Regions from separate parts of the Homo sapiens genome. Here regions 1 and 3 are each linked to region 2. The links are contacts of gene promoters, found by promoter capture Hi-C in blood cells and fetal thymus (Javierre and others, 2016). All regions are on one chromosome and are shown on one strand. Each heading gives the region's core, a stretch centred on a gene start or on the middle of the fragment in contact. The rest is flanking DNA. Distances are from core to core; before and after follow the strand shown.

Region 1 (5,010 bases), core at 1,168-3,667, 190 kb after region 2:
CCATTTATCCATCTCTCCTTTCATCTATCCCTCCCTTCTTCCGTCCATCTATCAAACATTTGTTGAGCTCCCACCATGTGGGAGTTCAGTTAGTGAATATGGAAATGGCTCACTAATTGGAAATAACAACGCAGTCTTGACTTTTGGCTTTTTACTATCCCTGGGTGTTTGTTCCTTGTTTATAGAGAGGGATAGCCAATCCTGAGGTTTTGGTCCAGCTATGGAATTTATATGGATGTGGTTGCTCTTCTCTCTGTCATTCTGTGTATAGCTAGAGAAATGAAGCAAGAAAAAAATGAATATTAAAGGCAATCCTATTTTTCTTGGACTCTAATTTGAAAAGCACATTTTTTTTTTGAAATCCAAGGAAGAGTATTTGCCAATGAGCCCTTCAATGAGGCAAAAAGAATTCCAGTGGATCCCAGGAAGACAGTCTGTGTTTAGGAAGGAAATATCCTGGGAGGTCCCTTTCTCTTGCATAGAGGATCCTGGCCTAGTCCAGCACTAGAGGCACTTGACACCAATGCCACTAGGAAATTGCATCCTCAGTTGTCTAAGGGGCTCTGGTCATGACCCTGCCCTTTTTCTTCCTTGGCAAAATTGCCCATATTTCAGTTTCAGGGGACTGAAGAATCTACAGTATTCCCCTAAGATCCCAGGATAGGTTCATAAAATGTGACTATCTGAAATTGAAGGAAGGAGAGTGACAAAAGTAGATGAGACAATCTATTCCTCCCTCACCCATCAAGACTGTAAGCTCAATAAGGACAGGAACTCTGTTAATCATGTTCATTGTTTTATCCCTAGGGCCTGGCAATATGATATTCAATGCTTAGCAAATATTCATTTAATTAATAATAGTTAATTATTAATTTTATAATTATAATTTTATAAATATAAATTCATGCAAATTATAAAACTGTTGCAGTCTTCTCAGGAAATATTTGTAGCACCCAAACTGCTAAGTAATAGAAAGTACATCAGACTTAGAGTAAGAAAGCTTGAGTCTGATTTCTTTTTCTTTTTCTTTCTTCCTTTTTTTTTTTGAGACAGAATCTCACTCTGTCACCCAGGCTGGAGTGCAGTGGCTCAATCTTGGCTCACTGCAACTTCCACCTCCCAGGTTCAAGAGCGATTCTCCTCTCTCAGCCTCCCGAGTAGCTGGGATTACAAGTGCATGCCACCATGCTCAACTAATTTTTGTATTTTTAGTAGAGATGGGGTTTCACTATGTTGGCCAGGATGGTCTTGAACTCCTGGCCACAAGTGATCTGCCAACCTAGGCCTCCCAAAGTGCTGGGATTACAGGCATGAGCCACCGCACCCAGCCCCTGAGTCTGATCTCCATTTACTAGCTGTGGGTACCAATTTTCATGTCTTTAAAATGGGATCAATAGCATCTACCTCACAGAGTTATTGGGAGGATTAAATAGAATCACATATTTAAGAGGCCATAGCACAATGCCTGACACAGTGATATGTTCTTAAGAAATGCTAGGGGACTGCGCAAATCTTAGCAAGAGGCCTACAGTGAGCCTAAAATGGAAGCATCGCTGGGTGCAGTGGCACATGCCTGTAGTCCCAGCTACTTGGGAGGCTGAGATGGGAGGATCTCTTTAGCCCAGGAGTTTGAGTCCAGACTGGGCAATATAGCAAGATGATGCCTCTAAAAAAAAAAAAAAAAGTTATAAAAAGGGAACACCAATGAAAATGTAACCACTGAAAGAGAAGCTAAATTCATGAAAATTATGAGGACAATAACTGAATCCAAATTCCCCAAACTGTCCAAGCTATGCTTGGCAAACCCAGAAAATGTTCCTACTGTGTCCTTATAGCAGAGGAAAACTGAGTCAAGAGCCACCCTAAGCACTCATTCAATTAATTACCATCCATTCATCCATCCATTTATCCATCTCTCCCTTCATCTATCCCTCCCTTCTTCCATCCCTCTATCAAACATTTATTGAGCTTCCACCATGTAGGAGTTCAGTTAGTGAATATGGAAATGGCTCACTGATTGGAAATCAGTGAGGACAGTTCCTGTCCTTATTGAGCTCACAGTCTTGACGGGGTGAGGGAGGGATAGATTATCTCATCTACATTTTTTTTTTTTTGAGACGGAGTTTCATTCTGTTGCCCAGGCTGGAGTGCAGTGGCCTGATCTTGCCTCACTCACTGCAAGCTCCGCCTCCCCGCCATTCTCCTGCCTCAGCCTCCCGAGTAGCTGGGACTACAGGCACCTGCCACCATGCCCAGCTAATTTTTTATATTTTTAGTAGAGACAGGGTTTCACCGTGTTAACCAGGATGGTCTCGATCTCCTGACCTCATGATCTGCCTGCCTCAGCCTCCCAAAGTGCTGGGATTACAGGCATGAGCCACCGCGCCCAGCCTATCTCATCTACGTTTGTCACTCTCCTTCCTTCAATTTCAGATAGTCACACTTTGTGAACCTATCCTGGGATCTTAGGGGAAGACTAGATTCTTCAGTCCCCTGAAACTGAAAATCATTTGTCGTCCTATTATAGTGACAATTTTTTTTTTTGATATGGAGTCTCACTCTGTCGCCCAGGCTGGAGTGCAGCGGCACTATCTTGGCTCACTGCAACCTCCACCTGCCTTAGCCTCCCGAGTTCAAGCGATTCTCCTGCCTTAGCCTCCTGAGTAGCTGGGACTACAGGTGCATGCCACCACGCCCAGCTAATTTTTTGTATTTTTAGTAGAGATGGCATTTAATCATGTTAGCCAGGATGGTCTTCATCTCCTGACCTCGTGATCCACCTGCCTCAGCCTCCCAAAGTCCTGGGATTATAGCCGTGAGCCACCGTGCCTGGCCTATAACGGCAAAAATGTTTTATCACTGATATGAAAAATATTTTTTAAAGGAAAATCAGTGGAAAAGTTTTGCTGGTGTTTCTTTGACAATTGTCACTGCTGAGCTTATTTTCATGTGAACAAGACAGGCTTTCAGCTTTCCTGAGTTGTCAAGTGATAGCTTAATAAAATTTGCTTTCCAAGTACTTATTCAGAAAAATTATCCAAAATTTGGAAATAAAGCAAAGACATTGTTGTGTGTCCTTGTTTCAATGACATACTAGAGAACTGTCCAAGAAGCTCACTTAGAGATCATCTTGTGCTCTTGGAATTATTATTTTGCTTCACTTACTCTTTACTATTTATATGAACTGAATGTTTGTGTCCCTCCTCAAATTTGTATATTGAAGCCTTAACCCCCAGTGTGGCTGTATTTAGAGATGGGGTGTCTAAGAAAGCAATTAAGATTAGATGAGGTCATAAGAGTGAGACTCTGATGTGATAGGATTAGTGTCCTTATAAGAGACACCAGCTTGAACACACTGAAGAAAGGCCAGGTGAGGACACTGTGAGAAGGTGGCCCTCTGCAAGCCACAAAGAGGGCTCTCACCAGAAGCCAAACCAGCCAGAACCTGGATCTTGGATGTCAAGCCTCTACAACTGTGAACAAGTTAATTTATATATTTTAAACCACCTAGTCTTGGTACTTTGTTGCGGCAGCCTGAGCTAAGACATTATTGCTTAACGTTCAGACTCTGTAACGTTGGGCATTCACTTGTAGAAGATCGACAAGTTGCTTGTGGATGTTTCTAGTAGAGATGTAAATTATTTCTATTTGTAGAAATGAGAGTGCAAAGATCAGTTTTACTGACCTGTAGGACAGTAACCATTTTATATCTAATGTCATCTGAGTTTCAGTTTTCCTGCTTTGTAAAACACCAATAACAGTTCCTCCTTCATAGGGTTGTTGTACCACTAAATGTAACACATGTAGCACTTGTAGGGCACTGCCGGACACGTAGTAAGCTTTCAATTAAATTACACTCACTACAATTATTTAGATCGGAGGTCTACAGATGTGTTTTGTTGGGTTTGCACAGCATTTAAAAATATGAGTAGCCAATAGGTAAAAGTCAGGACATTTCACGTATTTCAGATGTTAACGTCTCTTTAAAAATCAAAATATTAGTCAGTACAAGGCTTAAATTATTATATGGCAACCAACAACTTTAAGTTGGTGTCATCTGCCCTTTGGGATGGGCAGGTGTTTTTCCACTTGCCATAGGCCACATCTGGGCCCCTTTGTTCCTTTATATTACTTTCCAGGTCTCTGAGGCGCCAACCCCTGGTTTAGAGCATCATCTTCTTGTTCCCCAATTGAAATGACCTTCAGCCCAGTTTCCAGAGGCTCCAGAACCAGGACCTGCCCAATAGGACCCCAGTGGTACTTTAGGGGAGCGCTTCAAGTGCTCATGGTTCAGCCTGATAGTATGGGACGTCTTCACAGAAAATTGTCCCTTCTCATCTCTTCCCCAGCCCTGCAGGAAGGGCGTGGTATACTCAAAGTACATACAGTAGACATCCTCTTGAGGCTTTCTGAGATGTAGCATCCTGCCTAGATAGTCTTGGTGACTTAGCAGCTTTTAGCCCTGTGTCAAATCACTAGACTAGCTGATAATAATAGTAAACTTTAACATGAGTCCCACTCCCCGCCATACTGGTCACTTGGTGTAGAATCCTCCAAACAACTTGAAGTAGGTATCACAGGTCCACAATCTGAAATTCCAAAGCTCTAAAAACCCAAATTCTTCTTGTAGCGAAATCTAACCTGAACCAACATGAAGCTATATATAGTCTTTATTTTTCCCGCCTAATATAAATACTCTGACATTTTGCTGCAGAAATGGTAATGTGTTTGATTACTGGGTACTGCCCTAAACCCTGCTAGAGGTATGGTATTCAGACTGTTCCTTCTAGAATTTGAAAACCTGGCTCCAAGTGTTTCAGATAAGGTATCGAGAATATATATTATTCCCATTTTATAGATGAGGAAACTGAATCCCTGAGAAATTAAAACAAGAAAATCCACATTATCTCCTGACTGCTCATCAGCCAGTCCTTCCTGGATGGCCTTGGGCACCTTATATTGACTGTCTGGATTTCAGTTCCTCTTTCTATAAAATGACAGGTAGCACTA
Region 2 (4,754 bases), core at 844-3,343:
TTTTTCCCTGCGGCAATTTCCAGCGTGCAGGCCCCGCTCATCTTGTGACCCGGCTTGAGCTGAACTTGGCGAGGTGGCCCCGCAGAGTTCACTCGGATGTCACGGTCCGGCCTGCAGGGGTCACAGGCGGGTCAGGCCCGAGGATTGGGAATGGGCCCCAGGTCACGTCCCCATTCGTCGGCTTTGCACACCGGCCGGAGGCGCTGTCCAGAAAGGGGCGGACCCGGGATTTCTGAGAATTACCTCCAGCGCGATTGGCCTGGCTTCCTGCAGTGGCCAGAGGTTGGTTCGCCGTGTTTACAGCCACCAAATCGTTTGCCGGAGACTGAAACCCTGCCCAGAGCCTCTGAAACACTGGGCAGGTTATGGGGAAACGCTGACCCCCCGAAACACTCCCTGTGGCGGCGACTCTGGCTTGGAGAGTCGCTAGGATTGTGCGGGTCCCTCCGACCTCTGCAGATATTTCCTGATACCTCCGGGTTTGGGGACTACCGCGAGAAGGGCAACGCATTTAAACTCTCAGGAGCAGAGTTTTCCACCTCCAAGGGACGCCTTCCAAGGCGTGCGGCGTGCTTCTGCCAGAGACAGTGTTCAGTTTTAAACAAATGCAGGTCATTCTGTTTCATTTTCGGCGCCGCAGGTGCGTTCAGCGCCCAAACCCAGGTAGCGTGTGACCCTGACTGGTCCCGAGCCGGGAAGCTCCGGCAGGTGGAGAGCAGAGAGAGCAGGTGCGCGTCCCGCAGCGTCTGAGCTCCGGGCATTGGCAGCTCAGTAGCAGCTGATTGTAGATGGGCAAAGTACAGAAGACTTCCCAGTACGGATCCCTTCACCCCTCCCATTAGGGGTCGGTAGAGCCCTGAGTTTAGGGCCGAGCACCCCCTCACCTGGATGAGGACAGTGGCTTTACTCTGGGTGGGACTTGGGAGAGAGGAGGAGGACTCCAGTGCCCGGTGTACCGGACACCCAGGTAACGCAGTCTACCGTGCCTGGAGCTGGGAAGAGTAGTTGCAACCGGAGCCCCCTTTTGGGAACTCACTACCCTGAGGCTTAGACAGGTCGGGAATGATCGCCTCCCGGTTAAGGAGGAGGAAACAGGCACAGTGATGTGTGGTGACTTGCCCAAGGTCACACGCAGTACAGATGGAGCCGGGCCTCGGAGCCAGGACTCCTGGGCTCCCCTTCCTCTTATACCGTCTCTTTATCCTGCCAGGGCTAAGGACCCCCTTCCCTGCTGTCCAGCTGGGGCGCCAAGCAGCAGGGCCCTCCGAATAGGCGAGCTGTGCTTGGATCTCAGAGACGGGCACCGACTGCCGAGCCCCAGACGAAGTGCCCCAGGGTCGGGGATCAGGCTTGTGCAGGGTAGCACCTGGGGACCTGAGGGACCTGGAGGCCTTCTTGTATCCTGAAGTAGGACCTTCTAAGACTTCATGAGTCCTGGCCCCCTTGCAGGGGTTGGGGAGCTGGGGATCCCAGATCTGCCTATTGCGCCCGATGCCCCGAGGCTCTCTCTTGGACTCTGGCCCTGAGTTCTTCTGCGCGATCCTTCGGAGACGTCTGGAGGCCTGCTTTATGCATCTCTCTTGGACCTCAGTTTCCCCACACGTGGGAGGAGGCAGCTGGACGATTCCTGAAAGGACTTTCCCTTGCTTCCTCATCACGTGGAAGAGAGCCCACCCGGCACCTGGAAATGGAAAGCCAGTGAAGGCTGCTTTGGGCCGGGGCAGCGGGTGGGACCGGGCGGGAGGGATTCCAAAGAGACCGCCGGGAAGGCTAGAGCTTGGAATTCCGGCTCCTCGGAGTCCTGGCCCTCCCCCACCGCCGCCTCGGAGCTCAGCACACCTTGGATGGGGGAGGCGGGCAGCTCCTAGCCCCGCACCCCAGGAGGCGCGCTCGGAGGGAAGCCGCCACCGCGCCGCCTCTGCCTCGGCGCGGAACAAACGGTTAAAGATTTTGGGCAGCGCCTCGCGGGGGGAGGAGCCAGGGGCCCAATCCGCAATTAAAGATGAACTTTGGGTGAACTAATTGTCTGACCAAGGTAACGTGGGCAGCAACCTGGGCCGCCTATAAAGCGGCAGCGCCGTGGGGTTTGAAGCGCTGGCGGCGGCGGCAGGTGGCGCGGGAGGTCGCGGCGCGCCATGGGGCTCCCGGCGCTGCTGGCCAGTGCGCTCTGCACCTTCGTGCTGCCGCTGCTGCTCTTCCTGGCTGCGATCAAGCTCTGGGACCTGTACTGCGTGAGCGGCCGCGACCGCAGTTGTGCCCTCCCATTGCCCCCCGGGACTATGGGCTTCCCCTTCTTTGGGGAAACCTTGCAGATGGTACTGCAGGTAAGGGAGGGTGGGGCGGGACAGGCTGCTTCCCCGGAGCCCGGCGCGGCTCTGGGCTTCTGCTGAAGTCGGGGTAGGCGCCCCCGGGAGGCATGCTATTGCGGCTAGGAGCAGGGCTGGCGGGAGCGCGGCGCTCCCCGGCGCCCCCTCATGCCCACTTCTCTCCTCCGCCTTCCTCCCACAGCGGAGGAAGTTCCTGCAGATGAAGCGCAGGAAATACGGCTTCATCTACAAGACGCATCTGTTCGGGCGGCCCACCGTACGGGTGATGGGCGCGGACAATGTGCGGCGCATCTTGCTCGGAGAGCACCGGCTGGTGTCGGTCCACTGGCCAGCGTCGGTGCGCACCATTCTGGGATCTGGCTGCCTCTCTAACCTGCACGACTCCTCGCACAAGCAGCGCAAGAAGGTGGGGGCAGGAGGCGACGGCTGGACAGGGAGGGGGACCCCATTTATGAGCGGAATTCCGGCTGATGGATGCTAGGCGCGGGCTAGCAGCTTGAGGTGGGCTAGGACCCTCTGCCAGCTCCAGGTTAGCTTTCCCAGCTCGGAGAGTGCCATGTGTCTGGCAGGACTGGGGGTGTCTGGAAGGGGACGGCGGTAGACGAGAGGGGCGGATGGAGGCTTTTAACGCTGTCCCCTCCTCGGGACTCAGGTGATTATGCGGGCCTTCAGCCGCGAGGCACTCGAATGCTACGTGCCGGTGATCACCGAGGAAGTGGGCAGCAGCCTGGAGCAGTGGCTGAGCTGCGGCGAGCGCGGCCTCCTGGTCTACCCCGAGGTGAAGCGCCTCATGTTCCGAATCGCCATGCGCATCCTACTGGGCTGCGAACCCCAACTGGCGGGCGACGGGGACTCCGAGCAGCAGCTTGTGGAGGCCTTCGAGGAAATGACCCGCAATCTCTTCTCGCTGCCCATCGACGTGCCCTTCAGCGGGCTGTACCGGGTAAGGGCGGCAAACGGGCTGCGGACTAGGGGCGCGGGACCTGGGCGTCTGCTCACCGCCGCGCGCTCTCTGCGCTCAGGGCATGAAGGCGCGGAACCTCATTCACGCGCGCATCGAGCAGAACATTCGCGCCAAGATCTGCGGGCTGCGGGCATCCGAGGCGGGCCAGGGCTGCAAAGACGCGCTGCAGCTGTTGATCGAGCACTCGTGGGAGAGGGGAGAGCGGCTGGACATGCAGGTGAGTAGCAGCTTCAGACCAGGCACTGCGGAGTTTGGTCCCCTGGCTTTCCAAGCGCTGTTCCTGGGGCCCCCAAAGCGCGCGCCTGGGGCCCAGCTTTCTGGAGTGGGCGGCCGGCTCAGACTACAGCTATGGAATCCCGAAGGAAGGCTGAGACACCCGGTCAGGAGAGCTGCGGAAGGGGCTGCGGCGGAACTGGGAGCATCCCCTAGCCTTTCCAGGTTTCAAAGGGAAAGTTGGAATTTGCAAAAATGTTAATAAAGAACCTTGCGATTTTAATAAAACTAAGACTTTAACTCAGGAGTTTCCGGTAGAGCGGGGTCGTACTCGCCTTACTGCTCCAGCTGAACTAAAGGGACGTTGCATTTTGTTTAAAGATATTGCTTTCCTTGACTTTCTGTCAGCAAAACATTTAGCCCTTCTAGTCTTCCCTCCAGAACTCTCAGTTCGATTCTGAGTAATCCTTCTGTCAAACCGCAGGCAGACTTGTGAGAATGTGGGTCTCACTCTATTCTTAGGCACTAAAGCAATCTTCAACCGAACTCCTCTTTGGAGGACACGAAACCACGGCCAGTGCAGCCACATCTCTGATCACTTACCTGGGGCTCTACCCACATGTTCTCCAGAAAGTGCGAGAAGAGCTGAAGAGTAAGGTAGGGAGACTGGGTCTGGGGGTGTCCTTATTAGCTTAGGAAATTCAGCTGCTCCCTAGCCAACTTCCGAATAAGTCAGTGTGCTGCCTTCATGGAGTATTTTGAAAGTGCAGGGCCCAGGGCTGCGTGGGCCAGTGGGCAGAATTAGCTTTGTGAATAAACAGGATGGAGTCTTGAGCTGTGAGCCCACTTGGGCAGGGTTTGACCTTGTATTCCTACCCCTCCTCCACCTTTTGCTGAACCGTGGAGATTCTCAGATAGGTTCCACTTTCTTGAATTGGTGTGTCCAAGGGCATACATAGTGTGAATAGCTGATTAGTGTGGGTGGTGGTGGTGAGTGTGGGGTGGGGGGGCGTGGGGAGAAACTTGGTCCTTCTAACTGGTGAGCAGCATTCTCCTGGGATTGTAAATAGATAGTGGATTTGGGCAGGCAAATGGCCATTAGCTGCTGTTTCCCCCTCCCAGTCTCTCCCATCATGGGGCCCTTTGGGTTTAGTCTCCACTTAAGCCCTGTTTACGTCTGCTGGGCTGATTTTATTGGAGCACAAAATAACTGTTCACCTCTGTATGACTGTTTTGATAGGGTTTACTTT
Region 3 (5,097 bases), core at 1,785-4,284, 160 kb after region 2:
CTTCTGCTGAGGTCACCCGTTGGTGAGCACTGATGTGGGATACAAATATCTTCACAGTTTTTGATCACTCAGAGAGGTCTATCCACATACGTACTTCTTCCCCAAATTTCTTTGTGACCAATTTTCCAATCATGCTTCTTCCAAGTCCCTGACCATCCAGCCAAACCATTGGCTACAGCCCATGAATCAGTATATAATCGCACATCTAGCCATTTCTCCTTTCATGCAAAGTGTGCAGCCAGGTGCACTGCTAGAAGTTCTGCCCACTGGGAAGATTTCCCTTCACTGGTCTCCTTCAGGGATGTCCTAGAAAGGGGCTATAGTGCTGCAGCTGTCTACGTTCGAGTGGTGCCTGTATATTGTGCAGAACCACCTGTGACCCAGGCCCTAGTCTTCTCTTCCTCTGTCAAATGATCACAGGGAACTCCCCATGAGGCCATTGGTGCAGGCTGGGGAGGAGAAGGCAGGGCGGCAGGTGTGGAGACCATGGGCATTTGAGCCACTTCCTCATGTAACTTACTTGTGCCTTCAGGACCTGCTCAAGCCTCATCACGTATATACCACTTCCATTTGATGGTGGAAGGCTGTGCATGACCCACTTGATGGCTAAATGGGTCAGAAAGCACCCAGTTCATGACAGGCAGTTCAGGTTACATGGTGACTTGATGACCCATAGTCAAACGTTGTTTCCATCAAAGTCCAGTAACAAGCCAAGATCTGTCTCTCAAAAGGAGAGTAGTTATCTACAGAAGATGGCAAGGCCCTGCTCCAAAATCCTAGAGGCCTGCACTGTGATTCACCTATGGGGGCCTGCCAAAGGCACCAAACAGCATCCCTATCTGCCACTGACACCTCAAGCACCATTGGATCTGCTGGGTCATATAGCCCAAGTGGCAGAGCAGCTTGCACAGCAGCCTGGACTTGTTACAGAGCCTTCTCCTGTTCTGGACCCCACTCAAACTGGCAGCCTTTTGGGTCACTCAATAAATGGGTCAGAGTAACACACCCAGATGAGGAATGTGTTGCCTCCAAAATCCAAATAGGCCCACTAGGTGTTCTGCCTCTTTCTTGGTTGTAGGAGGGGCCAAACACAGCAACTTATCCTTCACTTTAGAAGGGATATTTTGACAGACCCCACACCACTGGACCCCTAGAAATTTCACTGAGGTAGAAGTTCCCTGAATTTTAGTCATATTTATTTCCCATCCTCTGGCATGGAAATGTCTCACCAATAAGTCCAGTGTGTTTGCTACTTCTTGATCACTGGATCCAATCAGCATAATGTCATCAATGTAATGGACCAGTGTGATATCTTGTAGAAGTGAAAAGCGATCAAGGTCTCTCCAAATAAGATTATGACACAAAGCCAGAGTTGATATACCCCTGAGGTAGGAAAGTAAAGGTATATTGCTGGCCTTGCCAGCTGAAGGCAAATTGCTTCTGGTGGGCCTTATGGACGGGAATGGAGAAAAAGGCATTTGCCAAGTCAATGGCTGCATACCAGGTACCAGGAGATGTGTTAATTTGCTCAAGAAATGAAACCACATCTGGTACAGGAGCTGCAATTGGAGTCACCACTTGATTAAGCTTGTGATAATCCACTGTCATTCTCTAAGATCCATCTGGTTCACAGCTCGGTCAGTTTGAGGCAGGCCAAATGGGAGAGTTGAATGGGGATGTGGTAGGAATCACCACCCCTGCATCTTTCACGTCCCTGATGGTGGCACTAATCTCCACAATCCCCCCAGGGATGTGATATTGTTTTTGATTTACTATTTCTTTAGGTAGAGACAGCTCTAATGGCTTCCACTTGGCCTCTCCCACCATAATAGCCATCACCCTACCAGTTAGGGAAGCCAGTGTAGGGATTCTGCCAGCTGCTAAGTGTGTCTATGCCAATTATGCATTCTGGCATTGGGGAAATTACTACAGGATGACTGTGGGGACCCACTGTAAGTCAGACCTGAGCTAAAACTCCATTAATTACCTGACCTCCATAAGTCCCTACTTTAATTGGAGGATCACAGTGATGTTTTGGGTCCCCTGGAGTCAACATCAGCTCAGAGGCAGTGTTCCATAATCTCTGAAATGTCTGATCATTTCCCTTTTCCCAATGCACAGTTACCCCAGTAAAAGGCCAGAGGTGTCTTTGGGGAAAGATGGGAGAAAGGTTCACTGCACAAATTGTCGGTAATGTAGTGAGGCCCTTCCTCAAGGGGATCCAGCCTCCCCTTCATTCAAGGAGTTCTGGGTCTATAAACTGGCTCAAGTCTGGAAATTGATTGAGGGACCATGATTCTCCGTTTTTGTAATTCAAATTAGTCTTTTGTCCATTCAAGCTAGAAGTTTTCTGCTTGTATAAATTAAGTATGAATGCAGTAGGCTTCCTATCAACTTCATTTCTAGGAACACTATGATTAATTAGCCAATGCCAGAGCTCTACATGAGTCAGACTATTCTGATTGGTGCTTTGTCTCTGCTGTTCATTATGGTAGCTACACCCACCTTGCCTTTGACGGTTGACTGCTGCCACTTGGCCCCTGCCACGTCGGGATCAAATTATTCCCATCGTATTTAAATTTTGTAGTTGAGTGACTATGGTTCCTACTGTTAGATCTGACATACAGAGAAGAGAAATTATAGGGCTCTTCAAACATGTAGGTACTTGCCTCACAAATCTATTTCACAAGGCATTGGTCAAGGGTATATCTTCTGGACCCTCCTACCTGGGATGAGTAGGTCTAAAGTGACTAATCCACTCCACCATCCCACTCTCCCTAAGCCTTTAGATCCCTTCCTCTACATTAAACCAAGAAAGATCAGGCATTTCCAGCTTGCTCACAGTGGGCCATCTTTTAATCCATATTTCAGCTAACCAAGCAAATAAACGATTAGAACCTTTTTTAATTCCCCAAGCTGCAACATTAAATGCAGAGTCCCTACTTAGTGGGTCCAAATCAATAAATTCAGCCTGATCCAACTCTATGTTCCTTCCACCATTATCCCATACCCTTAATATCCATTCCCGTGACTGTTCTCCAGATTTCTGTTTATATAAATTAGAGAACTCAAGCAGTTCTTTTTAAGAGTAGTGAACCTCCTCATGGATCATGCTCTCAACCTCACCTCTAGGTGCCTGCCAGGACTTTAGTCTAGTTATAGGTCTGGAAGCAAACAGAGGTGTTGAGGGTGGCTCCTGAGGAGAATCAACATTATTTTGCCTGGCAACTGCCTCCATGGAGGCCATCACTGTTGCCTCAGACAGTGCAGAGTTTTGTCTTCTCAGACAAAGGTGGAAAGGCTGATGGCAGCATGGGTCAGGGAGGGGATGTTGCCACTACTGGGGATGGTGAAGCTCTTCCTTCTGGCAAGAAAGTTTCATCAGAGCTTACAAACTTAGTGTTCCCAGCTTCATCAGGGTCCTCCCACACATCCCCATTCCAGGTTACAGGGTCTCATTCTTTTCTAATCAATGCCCTCACTTTAACAGTAGACACCGGTGAGGTGCATGCACCTTTCATCGCAGGTCAGCCACTCACATGATAAGAGCTTGTGTCTGTTTCTCCACAATTTCAGCTCTTTCTCTACAGGAGATAAGACTCTCACTCAGGGCAATCTTAGAAGATTTGAGGCTCAGTATCTGCTTCTGAAGCCAGAAGACAGAATCCCTGAGTTCATCATTTTCTCTCATCACTTTGTCCAGTGAACTTAGGAGCAACCAACCAGCTTCATTATGTTCCTTGGTTCTCCACATATGGTCAAAAGTATTATATATAGAGTTAAGGAACTCCTTGCATCTCATGAACAGTGAATCAGGAGTGTCAAATGCATTTATTTTACATAACTCTCTAAACAGTTCATGCCAAGGACTATCAGTGTTCTCCATACTATTAGAAGTAGAGTCCTTAGCATTTTTGGGTCTAATCATATTAAGCAGCCAACTCCAGAAACCCCAAAACCAACAAAAGAACTCCATCCTTAATATTCTGTTCCTGGCTGAGTGCAGTGGCTCACACCTGTAATCCTAGCACTTTGGGAGGCCAAGGCAGGTGGATCACCTGAGGTCAGGAGTTCGAGACCAGCCTGGTCAACATGATGAAACCTCATCTCTACTAAAAATACAAAAATTAGCCAGGCATGGCAGCAGGCACCTATAATCCCAGCTACTCGGGAAGCTGAAGTAGGAGAATCGCTTGAATCCAGGGGGCAGAGGTTGCAGTGAGCCGAGATTGCACCACTTCACTCCAGCCTGGGTGAAAGAGCAAAACTCTGTCTCCAAAAAAAAAAAAAGAAAAAAATTATGAATTCTGTTCCTCTAGAACCACTCCTGGTACCAAAATCTGTATTAGGGTTCCCTAAAGGAACAGAACTAATATATATATGTGTGTATATGTATACACACATGTATGTATGTGTATATATATATATGAGTTTATTAAATATTAACTTACATGATCACAATGTCCCACAATAGGCGTCTGCAAGCTTGAGGAGCAAGGAGAACCAGTCTGAGTCTCAGAACTGAAGAACTCTGGAGTCCGATGTTTGAAGGCAGGAAACATCCAGCATGGGAGAAAGATGTAGGCTGGGAGTCTAAGCCAGTCTTGCCTTTTCACGATTTTCTGCCTGCTTTATATTCACTGGCAGCTGATTAGATTGTGCCCACCAGATTAAGGGTGGGTCTCTTTTCCCCAGCCCACTGACTCAAATGTTAATGTCCTTTGGCAATACCCTCACAGACACACCCAAGATTAATACCTTGCACCCTTCAATCCAATCAAGTTGACACTCAATATTAACCATCACAGAGATGGTTCAACACAATCCATTTGAGCCCAGGTTCACAGCTTGGTCAGTGTCAATAGACTCTGACAGGCACACTTCCTGGGAACAGATAAAGGATCTGAGCTTCCAAGAGTTCAGAGTCCGAGTACCAGTTGCCTCTGGTTGACTCCTCTCATCCTCTTGGGACCTGGTGGGGTGAGGAAACTGACCTTGAGTGACCGAGCCTCATGACGTGTCCTGGAATGTGGATTTCTCATGCTATCCCAAGTGCTTCCTCTAAAGTGAGTTTCTAGAAATCAAATCTTCATTACA

Evidence for each region. Contacts are between HindIII fragments. The CHiCAGO score rates a contact against its expected background, and 5 or more counts as called.
Region 1: a contact is called between a fragment that was not itself captured here and the fragment with the promoter of CYP26A1 in region 2, in 3 of 17 cell types (M1 macrophages, M2 macrophages and M0 macrophages). The highest score is 8.2, in M1 macrophages.
Region 3: a contact is called between a fragment that was not itself captured here and the fragment with the promoter of CYP26A1 in region 2, in 1 of 17 cell types (M2 macrophages). The highest score is 7.0, in M2 macrophages.

Annotation. Positions count from the first base shown.
Region 1 is chr10:93,262,664-93,267,673 of GRCh38, forward strand. No RefSeq gene overlaps it. Among named protein-coding and RNA genes, the nearest start is that of CYP26A1, 190 kb to the left of the region's middle. RefSeq lists a silencer at 4,900-4,949. The HindIII fragment of the contact is 2,839 bases long and covers 999-3,837 here.
Region 2 is chr10:93,071,800-93,076,553 of GRCh38, forward strand. It overlaps CYP26A1 (cytochrome P450 family 26 subfamily A member 1), which reads left to right and starts at 2,094. Exons shown (of 7, transcript NM_000783.4): 1 at 2,094-2,324; 2 at 2,509-2,733; 3 at 2,980-3,270; 4 at 3,350-3,508; 5 at 4,027-4,161; 6 at 4,745-4,754. The coding sequence starts at 2,136. The HindIII fragment of the contact is 6,992 bases long and covers 1-4,754 here.
Region 3 is chr10:93,230,943-93,236,039 of GRCh38, forward strand. No RefSeq gene overlaps it. Among named protein-coding and RNA genes, the nearest start is that of CYP26A1, 160 kb to the left of the region's middle. The HindIII fragment of the contact is 2,898 bases long and covers 1,586-4,483 here.